Regions from separate parts of the Homo sapiens genome. Here region 1 is linked to region 2. Evidence: promoter capture Hi-C in human tissues and cell types (Jung and others, 2019). All regions are on one chromosome and are shown on one strand. Each heading gives the region's core, a stretch centred on a gene start or on the middle of the fragment in contact. The rest is flanking DNA. Distances are from core to core; before and after follow the strand shown. Region 1 overlaps CEP135 (centrosomal protein 135). Region 2 holds the start of CLOCK (clock circadian regulator).

Region 1 (5,303 bases), core at 1,688-4,187, 440 kb after region 2:
GGCTGAGGCAGGCGAATCATGAGGTCAGGAGATCGAGACCATCCTGGCTAACACGGTGAAACCCCGTCTCTACTAAAAAAAAAATACAAAAATTAGCCGGGCGTGGTGGCGGGCGCATGTAGTCCCAGCTACTCGGGAGGCTGAGGCAGGAGAATGGCATGAACCTAGGATGCCGAGCTTGCAGTGAGCCGAGCCGAGATCACGCCACTGCACTCCAGCCTGGGAGACAGAGCAAGACTCCGTCTCGAAAAAAAAAAAAAACATAATAAAACAACAGGGATTGGGAGAGACTGATCAAACCCAGTAGAGAGCAAACCCACAAATGTAAGAATTTGATCTGTGAAGTAACTCAGATCAGTGGGAAAAGGAATGATTATTCACTAATTGTTTCTCAGACTATTGGCTATTCATATTTTAAAAGGAAAAAATTGGATCCTAACTCAAATATGCCACACCCAAAAATCAGTTAAAGGTTACTTACAGCCTTGAATGTTCAAGATATTACTACATTTTTTAAAGAAATGCAGAAGATCTTTTTGACCTTGGAGAAATAATAATATCAGTCATTTATATAGCATTCACTATGTTTCAGATACTTTTCTCAACATTTTATACCCAATTATTTTAATTTTCATAACAGTCATATAAAGTAAATGCTAATATTGTCCTCATTTCACAAATAAGGAAACTGAGGCAGAGGGGAAACTTGCCTAAGATCACACAGCTAGCAGATGTCTGGTGCCAGAATGTGTGCCCCTAAACAAGACACAAACACAAATAAATTTATTCCTTAAAGGAAAACACTGATAAATAGGACCACATTGGCAAAAAAAAATCTTTGTTTATCTACTTAACTATAAATTGAAAAGATAAGCCACTGATAGAACAGTTTGCTACACATTTAATCCCCCTCCCCTGAAAAAGCCTCAACAGAAGATGTGAATAAACTCTTTATGGAGGAAGAAATTACAAATGGCTAATAAACATAAAAGATATTCTACCTCAATAATGGGGGAAATGTAAATTAAAACAGTAAAATCATTTTACATCAAGGCATTAGAAATTATCAAGTTGTAACATATATTAGCAAATATGTGTAGCTCCTAGGAGTGCAAACTTCATATCTGTTCCAAAAAAATTGGTGTTATCTAGCAAAGGCATACCCTATGAGCCAACAATTCCCTTTCTAGATATGTACCAGATATGATGGAGCTCAGCAAAATATGATCCCCAGGGCAAATGCAGCCTCCAGTCTGTTTTTGCAGCATGGTTTTGCTCATTTATTTACATATTGTCTGTGACTGCTTTTGTGCTGTGATGGAGTAGTGGTGACTGATCCATCTTCTTTTTTCTTGTAAATTTTTTTCCTTTTGTTAGTAATTGACTTTGTTTTGGTTTGCTTTGCTTTTTGTTACCTGGTTTTCATTGAACCTATTGCTAATTTTTGTCAAGAGTTCCATTATCTCTGACTTATGCCTTTAAATATGTTTTGAATACACAAACATCAGTTTCAGTTTTTTCTTCTAAAAACCTCGCTTCTAGAGCTGTGTATTCTTATTCCTTTACTGTCATTTTAGCAATGCTTTCAGAGGGAGGGGAGATAAAATATGTGTGGTCAGTCCACAGTTTTAACTGGAAGACTTACATTTATTACTAATATTTATTGGTTTTAAAATTTAAATGTAGGTCATTTTCCCATCTAGAATTTATTTTTGTATGTAAAATAAAGAAGAAATCCAGCTAAGTTGTTTTTCCAGTGACTGTTTGTCCCTACACTTATTTATTTATTTTAAAGAGACAGAGTCTTGCTCTGTTGCCCAGGCCGGAGTGCTGTTGTATGATCATAGCTCACTGCCTCCTCCAACTCCTGGGCTCAAGCAATCCTCCCACCTCTTCAGCCTCCCTAGGAGCTAGGACTACAGGTATACCATCATGCCCGGCTAATTTAAAAAAAAAATTTTATTGTAGAGACAGGGTCTCACTGTGTTTCCCAGGCTGGTCTCGAGCTCCTGGCCTCAAGCAATCCTCTTGGCCTCAAGTGGTCCTCTTGCATTGGCCTTCAAAGTACTAGGCTTAAAGGTGTGAGCCACCATAACGCCCAGCCCCCTACTCTTATTTTTTAAGTTTATGCTTTTCCTACTTCCCAAAAATGCTATCTTTTCTAAATTTACATCTGTGCATGATATTTTTCACTGTTTTCACTTTCATAAATTTGCTTGCGCATTTGTATGTGAAATCTTCACTGTTCTAATTATAATAACTTTTTTTTTTTTTGAGACAGAGTCTCACTCTGTTGCCCAGGCAGGAGTACAGTGGCGTGATCTCGGCTCACTGCAACCTCTGCCACCAGGGTTCAAGCGATTCTCCTGCCTCGGCCTCCCAAGTAGCTAGGACTACAGGCATGTGCCACCACGCCTAGCTAATTTTTTGTATTTTTTCGTAGGGATGGGGTTTCACCGTGCTAGCCAGGATAGTCTCCATCTCTTGACTTCATGATATGCCCACCGTGGCCTCCCATATAATAACTTTATAGTTTGTTTTGATATCTCATAAAGCAAGTATACTTGTATTTTTTCCAAAAATTTTTCCTGTTTTTTTCTTTTTTTTTTTTTTTGTAAATGAATTTAGAATCAAATCTAAGCCATCCCCATTTTTAAAAAGCTTGTGTTAGAATTGTATTGGAATTCCATTGAATTTACTATTATTTGAGGAAATTTTAGTGTATTTACAATATTGTGCTCCCATCAAGAAACATTGTGTTGCCTGTACATTATGTCAGGTTATATTCTGTGCTTTTCAGGAAAATTATACTGTTTCTTCACATAGATCTTGCCCACTTTGTGTTTGGGTTACAGTGTTTTGTGCTGTGTTTTTTTCCCCTCAATTCAGTCCTATTTACTTATTGTGTTTTAGAAATTCCCCAAAATTTTCACTCTGCCAGTGGTTTCCTTCCTGTTTCATTGCTGTTATAGATATATTCTTTTCTCTTCGTGCTTTTTATATTTTGTTTGTATCTTTAATGGTAGTGAGGAGAAAGAAATTTTACACCCATTCTGACTCTTAGAACCTAAACTGTACACATGACTTATAAAGTTTTTTTAAAAATAAATCTATTTTCTTAGTTTTCTTCCGGAAATATTATTAAAGAGTGCCTAAGAAAAATATCATTAACGTATTAAGATATATACCTACTGTTTTTTTATTTAAATTATAGCTTGAAAGCGAAAAATATGAATTAAAGTCTAAAGTGTTAATAATGAAAGAAACAATAGAGTCGTTAGAGAACAAATTAAAAGTCCAAGCTCAAAAATTTAGCCATGTGGCTGGTGACTCATCTCATCAGAAAACAGAGGTGAACTCACTTAGGTAAGTTTATTCAAAATTTTCTAATTTCATTTCTGGGAATGTGTTTGTGGTTATGTAAAGTTTATAATCATGGCATTTTGGACTGGGCCTTTGTGCAGTAGTTTTAGAAGTTGGCTTTGCAGTAGACTCACCTGGGAGCTTTTGAAAAGTATGAATTTAAGGGGCTGATTTTGGGAGGTTCTAATTCACTGAGAATCTACTGGGGTAGGTTTTGGGTATCTGTGTTTTTTAAAAGAAATTTCACAGATTAATATGATTGCAGGCAAAGTTTTTCAACCTTCTTTTGAAATCCTCTTAAATACTTCAGATCATTTGTATTTCATAGTGTAAGATACTGAAAATTACAGAATTGTTTACTACCTATGCCATTTTCTTTCTCTTTCTTGCCTCTTTCAGTGAAACGTAAAGTCAAAGAATTTACCTCCAATTTTTAACCCTTTCTGACTTAGAAACAGAAGTTTTTAAGTAGGGAGGTAAGACATATCAATAGTGTTCCTTTTAGGAAGCTAACTTTGGTGGAAATATGGAACATGGATTTCAAGTCTTAGAGATTGATGGCAAAAAAAGGAGACCGAGGATCTGGACTGAAGCAGTGGTAATGAACTTAGAGAACAGAGACCAAATTTAAGAAACACTTTTTATATAAAATCAAAAGGTTTAGATGACTAATATGGGGCTGAGAAATACGATAAGTAGAACATTTACCTTAGCATATTGGGTTGTTGGTTAGTCATTAATTAATTTAGAATACAGAAGACTCAAGGAAACAAAAGGCAAACAAAGCTTTTTTTCTGATCAGAGTAGCTGCAATAAGTAACAAGATAATGAAGGTCGGAATAAGGGGACCGCTCTGAAGAATCTGAGGAAATACCTCTCTCTAAATTACATTTGCAGTCAGAATCAGGAAAAGATTTTCAAATGTCAGCAAGACATTACATCTGTGAAACATTTAGTCATGAAACAGTGACAACTTGAGATCAGAAAGGATTATAGTAATGACACTTTAAAAAAAAGATTTAACAAATTAAAACTGAAAAGTTAGTGAATGGCATTGGATATTGGCAGAAAACTGAGTTGGTGAAATAGAAAAAACAAACTGATGAAAGTCACCCAGAACTCCAAAGAACAAAAGTAAATGATGAGAAAAAAGACATAGTTCCAATATACAAAAAACTAGGAATCACAAAAGTATATAGTAAACAGAGCAAATACGAGAATCAAAGGAATTAGGAAAAGAAAAGTCTGAGACTGTAGTTCATAAGGGTTCTCTGATTGTCTAATGACTTAATGAAATAAGACCAAGAACTGGGTGTGTCTAGTTAATTAAGGAATACTATATTAGCGACTCATAAAGAGCATCTCCAGTTTTGTTCTTTTGCTTCTCTGACGATAGTTTTGGTAGGTTAGACCTCAGGAAGAACTAAAGTAGATACTGCTTTTTTCTTTGCTTTTTTCTGTGAGAGGAGAGCTGAATGGACTGGTATCTCCTCTGGCTCATGTCTGGATTCAGCTCTAAAGTACAGATAACATGACATATTCTTGTCATCCAGAATTTCACTTGTCACTTTCGTGTCCAGCTGACTGGATCTAGCATGTAATCCATTTTGTTTTTCCTTGAGATTATGGCTGAAACACCTCTTTTCCTCACAGGAGGCTGTTTCCAGTCTTAGAAGGCAGAGCTCTCAGTGCCCTTTCTTGGATAACCTAGCCTATAGCTCCTTTGGAGTTTTATTTCTTGTACTACTACTAATATCCTTTTCTCTTATGAGCTCAATCAGCCTCTTCCCTCACCTAGGAGTAATTCAGTCACTGGGCTATTGTGAGAATTTTTGTCTACCTTTCTACCAGGTTACCTTGTATAACCTGGGGATATGGCATTATTTTATAACTTTATTTTGCTCTAACAGAAAAATATGACTTATCTTGTCTCTTAGGAA
Region 2 (4,981 bases), core at 2,200-4,699:
AAAAAGATCTACAAGATCATACAGTGGTGTTAACAGTGTTACCCTTCAGTCAAGGGTATACGAGTAGCTGTGCTCCCTAGATTCCTCTGGGGAGGAATGTGAGCTAGAAGTGGATGTAAAGGGGTTGTCACTTATTATATATACACTGTATTAACTTTTTATGAGCATCAATTTACTTCTGTAATTTTAAAAATAAGAGTCCCAGCTACTCGGGAGGCTGAGGCAGGAGAATCTCTTGAACCTGGGAGCCGGAGGTTGCAGTGAGCCAAGATCGTGCCACTGCACTCCGGCCTGGTGACAGAGCAAGACTCCGTCTCCAAAAAAAAAAAAAATTGAAATGTAATTCCATTTTTAAAAAAGATTGAACGGACCCACATGGAATTCAAATGAAAAATAAGTGACACTTTGCAGAAGTCTATTAGAAAAACCTACATATCAAACAGAAATAATATAAGTATCCTATCCTACAAAATAAAAAGGAATACTGGTAATATTACAAAAATGCCCACAGCAACTGCAATCCATTACTCACTATTCACTACTTTCATTACACAATATTAGTCACCAGGGGGAGTTTGAGGGTCCCCTCCCAAAATTATATCTCATCTAACAGCTGCCTGTGCAGTCTTAACCTCATTAAACAGGTTTTCAACAATCCAGTCCTAAAAAAATGTTCATTTTGTACACTTTCATGAGAAACAACCAGACACACACACACACACACACACACACACACACACCCCAATTTACCTTTCACTGGGGTTCATGTTTGATTTCCTCAAAAGAAAGAAAAGTTTCCCAACCTGAAAAGCAAACTAACCTAGACAATCAAGTTTACTAGCACTTTAAGGGAATGTTCACATCCTCCTCATAATTGTTTGTCATGAAACTTTGGGGTTAAGTAAAATTTTACCCATCTATGACTCCTGAAAAAAAGAGGAGGGGGAAACACAAACTACACTCTGAAAGCAGCATAATCCAGCCATAATGCCAAATGTAAACAGTCATATATTTTAGCAAGGCAAGATATAACTAAACATCTTTAAAAGATAAATGCCTGTGACCTCTGCAATCTTAAAAATTAAAGTGTAAATAGTCATAAAAGGTATCCCAAACTTCCTTTTTAGTTGATTTTCCTAAAAAATATGAAAAGCAATCATATTGAAAATGACTCAAATCACCATAAATTAGGCAACAAAAATCACACAAATTATTTGGGGGAGGAGGATTTTTGTTTAATCCAGTTTATGAGTCCATAATACACACAAAAATTTGAAAACATGAAGACATACACATAATACATCTCATTTCCCACCATTCCCTCAGACTATTTCTCCCTCTCCTCTATTGTTAGTTTTCTAAATCCTCCCATAATTTCTTTATATAAAGAGCAAACATAAACTTGTATTATTACACCTCGCCCTTAAGATGTAACACACTATTCACAAAGTACCGCTACACCTTGCTTTTTTCACTTCATAGCAAATTTTTGCAATCTTTGCATGTTAGTACGTAGAAAGCTTCCTTATTCTTTTTTCATAACTGATTACGCCTAGCTTTAGAACATTTTCAGTCTGCTTTCTTCAGGCTAACTTTTTTTTTTTTTACTTTTTTTATTATTATACTTTAAGTTCTAGGGTACATGTGCACAACGTGCAGGTTTGTCACATATGTATAAATGTGCCACGCTGGTGTGCTGCACCCATTAACTCGTCGTTTACATTAGGTATTTCTCCTAATGCTACAGGCTAACCTTTCAAGACATTCTGTTCAGCCAACCACTTATCACAGGAATTAATTTCCTTCCCCCAAGCTTTGAAAACCAATCAGATTTGAGGTGTCCCAAGGGATAAGTTTCAGAGAAAGCAATTCATTATCTAAATTACATCCTTTTAAGAATGTTTATTTTCAAACAGGTAGAGGGGAATATTGCACAATTTTCTCTAATCGCTTAAAGCTACAAATCAGAACGCAATCTTCAAAGTGAAATTACCTTTGATTTGGGGGGATCAGCGTTATAGTCAAATCAACGACTGTAAAAGTTTACTTCTTGTGCTTTTCTTCCACTGTAAAAATTTTTTTATTTTTTAAAGAAGGCTAAAAAGCCTTAAAGTCTAATAGCACGGCATTCTAATAGCAGGAAACCACAATCTGATTTGATCTTTCATCTGCCAGGTCAGAGACTAGGCTTTTATCTTGCAGAATTAGGCTCACCTACCATCAACAAGAGGACCTCTACAAAGCTACAAACACTTTCAAAGAATATAAACTCTGCGGCGCTGCGTGTAGGAAATTACACTCCAGGGGCCAGAGCGCCAGAGCCAACTCCAGAAAACCCAGCTTCACTGGCGGAAAGAAATCTACAAACGCCAGCGGCGGTGACGGGGAACGGGAAGCGCGGGTGGACGGAAGAAGAGAAACCGAGCGCCTCGCCGCCAACCCTCGAACCCGCGCGCGGTCGCTGGAGTCAGACGCTAATAGCCGCGCGCTGCCTAGGAACGGAACCCCGGAACCACCACCACTAACGGAACCAGCCCGCGGCCGGCAACGGCGGCCGTTCGGACTGCGGACTGCGGCACGCGGGCCGGGCGCCGGGAGGGCGGGGGTTCCCCGGAGGAGCTGGCCGCCCCGGCGCCCCATTGGGCGCTGCTCCAAACGTGCCCGAGTGGTGACAGGAATAAAGTGGGTCACAAGGCCTAGCGGGTCCCCAGCGAAAGCTCTCTCGGCACCCGGTCCCCGTCTTTCCCCGCCTCCCAGCTGCTGGAATCGGCCGCAGCTCCGGGCGCCCTCAAGCCGCCCGGCCCCGCCGTGCACCCCACTCCCGCCCCTGCCCCGCAGGTAACCCCAGCTGCCCCAGAGGGCCTCTCAGGCAGGGCGGGCCTCGGCCCGAAGTCCCGGGAAAAGACACACTAGAACGACACGCCAAACTTGGGCTTCAGCTCCCGCCTTCCCCACCCTTGGCCGCCGCCCCCCGGCCCCACACACGCCGCCCCCCGCTCCCTCCCCTTCCCCGCGCCCTCACCGTGTGGCTTGCGGCGGCTCCGGCTTCTTCCCTCCCCCACCCAGGTCTCCCGCTGCGGTGACTCGGAACCACTACCCCGCCTGTGTCCAGGAGGCGCCGCGGCTCCCACCTCCAGCAGCACCTGGGGCTGTGAGTGGCGCCCCCCACCCACCCCCCCAAAAATTCGCCGCTCCTGTGGCCAGCTCCTCCTCCCCCTCCCTTCCCTTCCCCTCCTCCACCAGCCCAGGAGCGCGCATGCGCCGCCAAGGAAGCCAACCGGCACTCGGCAGGCCCTGGGCCCACCGGGCGGGCGCCTCTCACCGGGAGCGCTCGCGGCGGCGGCGGCCAGATTTCCTTCGCGCTCTCGCTCTCCGGGGTTTCCTTTTTTAAACCGGCAGCCGCAAGCCGAGTCCGTGATTGCGCCCCCTCCCGGCGCATGCGTCGTCAGCGACCCCGCGGGCTCAGACGGCCGGCGGAGGCTCTGCGCTCGCCCCTCCCCTCACTCTCCCTTTCCCCAGCGCGGCTCGGTGCGCATGCGACTTGCCCCGTTAGGCAGCACGGAGCCGCGCCAGGGGATCCCGGACGCCCGAAGAGACTCCCGCGCCCCTTGGGCCGAAATCTGGCTCTGCAGGCGCACCGTTCCCTGCCCCGGCCGGGAACGGCGCCGGTTACTAGAAAGCCGGGGAGGCGGGGCCTGGTCGGGTGGAGGGCGCGGCCGGCCGGCAGAGCGCTAGCCTTAGGTCCTGGAGGCTCTTTGGCTTTCCCCCCGTATGCCGGGGGCTAGGAGGAGGAAGAAGAGCTTCCTGCCGGATGAGGGATCCAGAGGCCAGAAAAGGAACCCGCTCTCCCTTCCAAAGCAAAACACTGCCGACGCCAGCTTAGATTTTTCGGGTGTTGGCAGGAGACTTTTTCCCCCAGTGGCATCATTCGTGTTTCCTCTCCTGGTGCTGGGAGAGAAGAGTTGCAAAGGCGCCTGGACCGCCAGTAACATCTTCTCCCATCTCCTGAGGGAGCGCGGCTTGGGTTGCTTCTTCTTGGTGGGTGGGCCTGGGGAGACAGGGCATGCGCCCTCGGCCAGAGGAGGGAAGCGAAAGGAGGTCGGGATTTATTTGCTCATTTGGAGATTTTTCCCTTGCCCTTTTATTAAAAATCAAGTGACAGTGTAATGGAAGATGGAGAATGAAGCATCAGAAATAAACCAGGACCCTAATTTGCATGGATTTCCTCGTTGGAACAACGTGTGACTACTACTTATCTTCGGGAAATTACTTATCTTGATGCGTTAAGGCACATTTGGTCCACATGAGAAAGCACATTTCAGTGCTTCTACTGGAAAAGAGATCTTTACAGTCTTAATTCCTAGTAATTCCTATGTTTTAATGAATATCTTTTGGATTTGAAATAAAAGCCATCTTTTTCTTTCAAAAAATGCACTTTTCTGGCCGTAAAATCCTCCCTTTAAAGTAACAGTCACCTCAGTAAACATTTTCAATTCTTGCTGTATGCTCTGGGCAAAAGAACATCAAACTGAAGCACTTATTCAGATCCTTGATCCTGCACCTAAGGATTTTTCTTTCAGGAGTGGGAAAACATGATTTGTTAATTTACCCCATCATATAGCAGAAGATATTTTGGTCGACATTTTTGCCTGTTCAGCATTCATTCCCTATTCTGATAATTTCTTTTGAAGAACTATCATTTATCCACTCTCAGTCCATATGGTCTGAGCAGGACACAAGGGGAAGGCATATTTGAGTTTAATCCTCGGTTGCAAACTACGGTTCCTAAGAAGGGTGTTACGTCTTTACCAATGGGTTTAAATCTGGGAGAATGGAGACCTGGAGCCATCTTTCCACACGTGAATTCTGAGAAAGAAGGCAACACGGAAAAAAAGCAGATTTGAAGACAGGTTTGGCCTAAAGACATGTTTGAGGCCTGGAAACAAATGTAGATTAGATTCCTCTGGAAATTTCGTTAAAC

The links. Contacts are between HindIII fragments. The study calls those that stand out against the background at their distance.
Region 1: a contact is called between a fragment that was not itself captured here and the fragment with the promoter of CLOCK in region 2, in 1 of the 25 tissues and cell types used here (lymphoblastoid cells).

Annotation. Positions count from the first base shown.
Region 1 is chr4:55,988,720-55,994,022 of GRCh38, forward strand. CEP135 (centrosomal protein 135) reads left to right here. Exons shown (of 26, transcript NM_025009.5): 15 at 3,215-3,366. Among named protein-coding and RNA genes, the nearest start is that of CEP135, 42 kb to the left of the region's middle. RefSeq lists an enhancer at 2,260-2,419. The HindIII fragment of the contact is 4,847 bases long and covers 515-5,303 here.
Region 2 is chr4:55,543,460-55,548,440 of GRCh38, forward strand. CLOCK (clock circadian regulator) reads right to left here and starts at 3,450. Exons shown (of 23, transcript NM_004898.4): 1 at 3,323-3,450. LOC124900704 (a long non-coding RNA gene) reads left to right here and starts at 2,406. Exons shown (of 2, transcript XR_007058122.1): 1 at 2,406-3,151; 2 at 4,157-4,430. RefSeq lists silencers at 2,446-3,075, 3,196-3,295, 3,356-3,725. The HindIII fragment of the contact is 10,162 bases long and covers 691-4,981 here.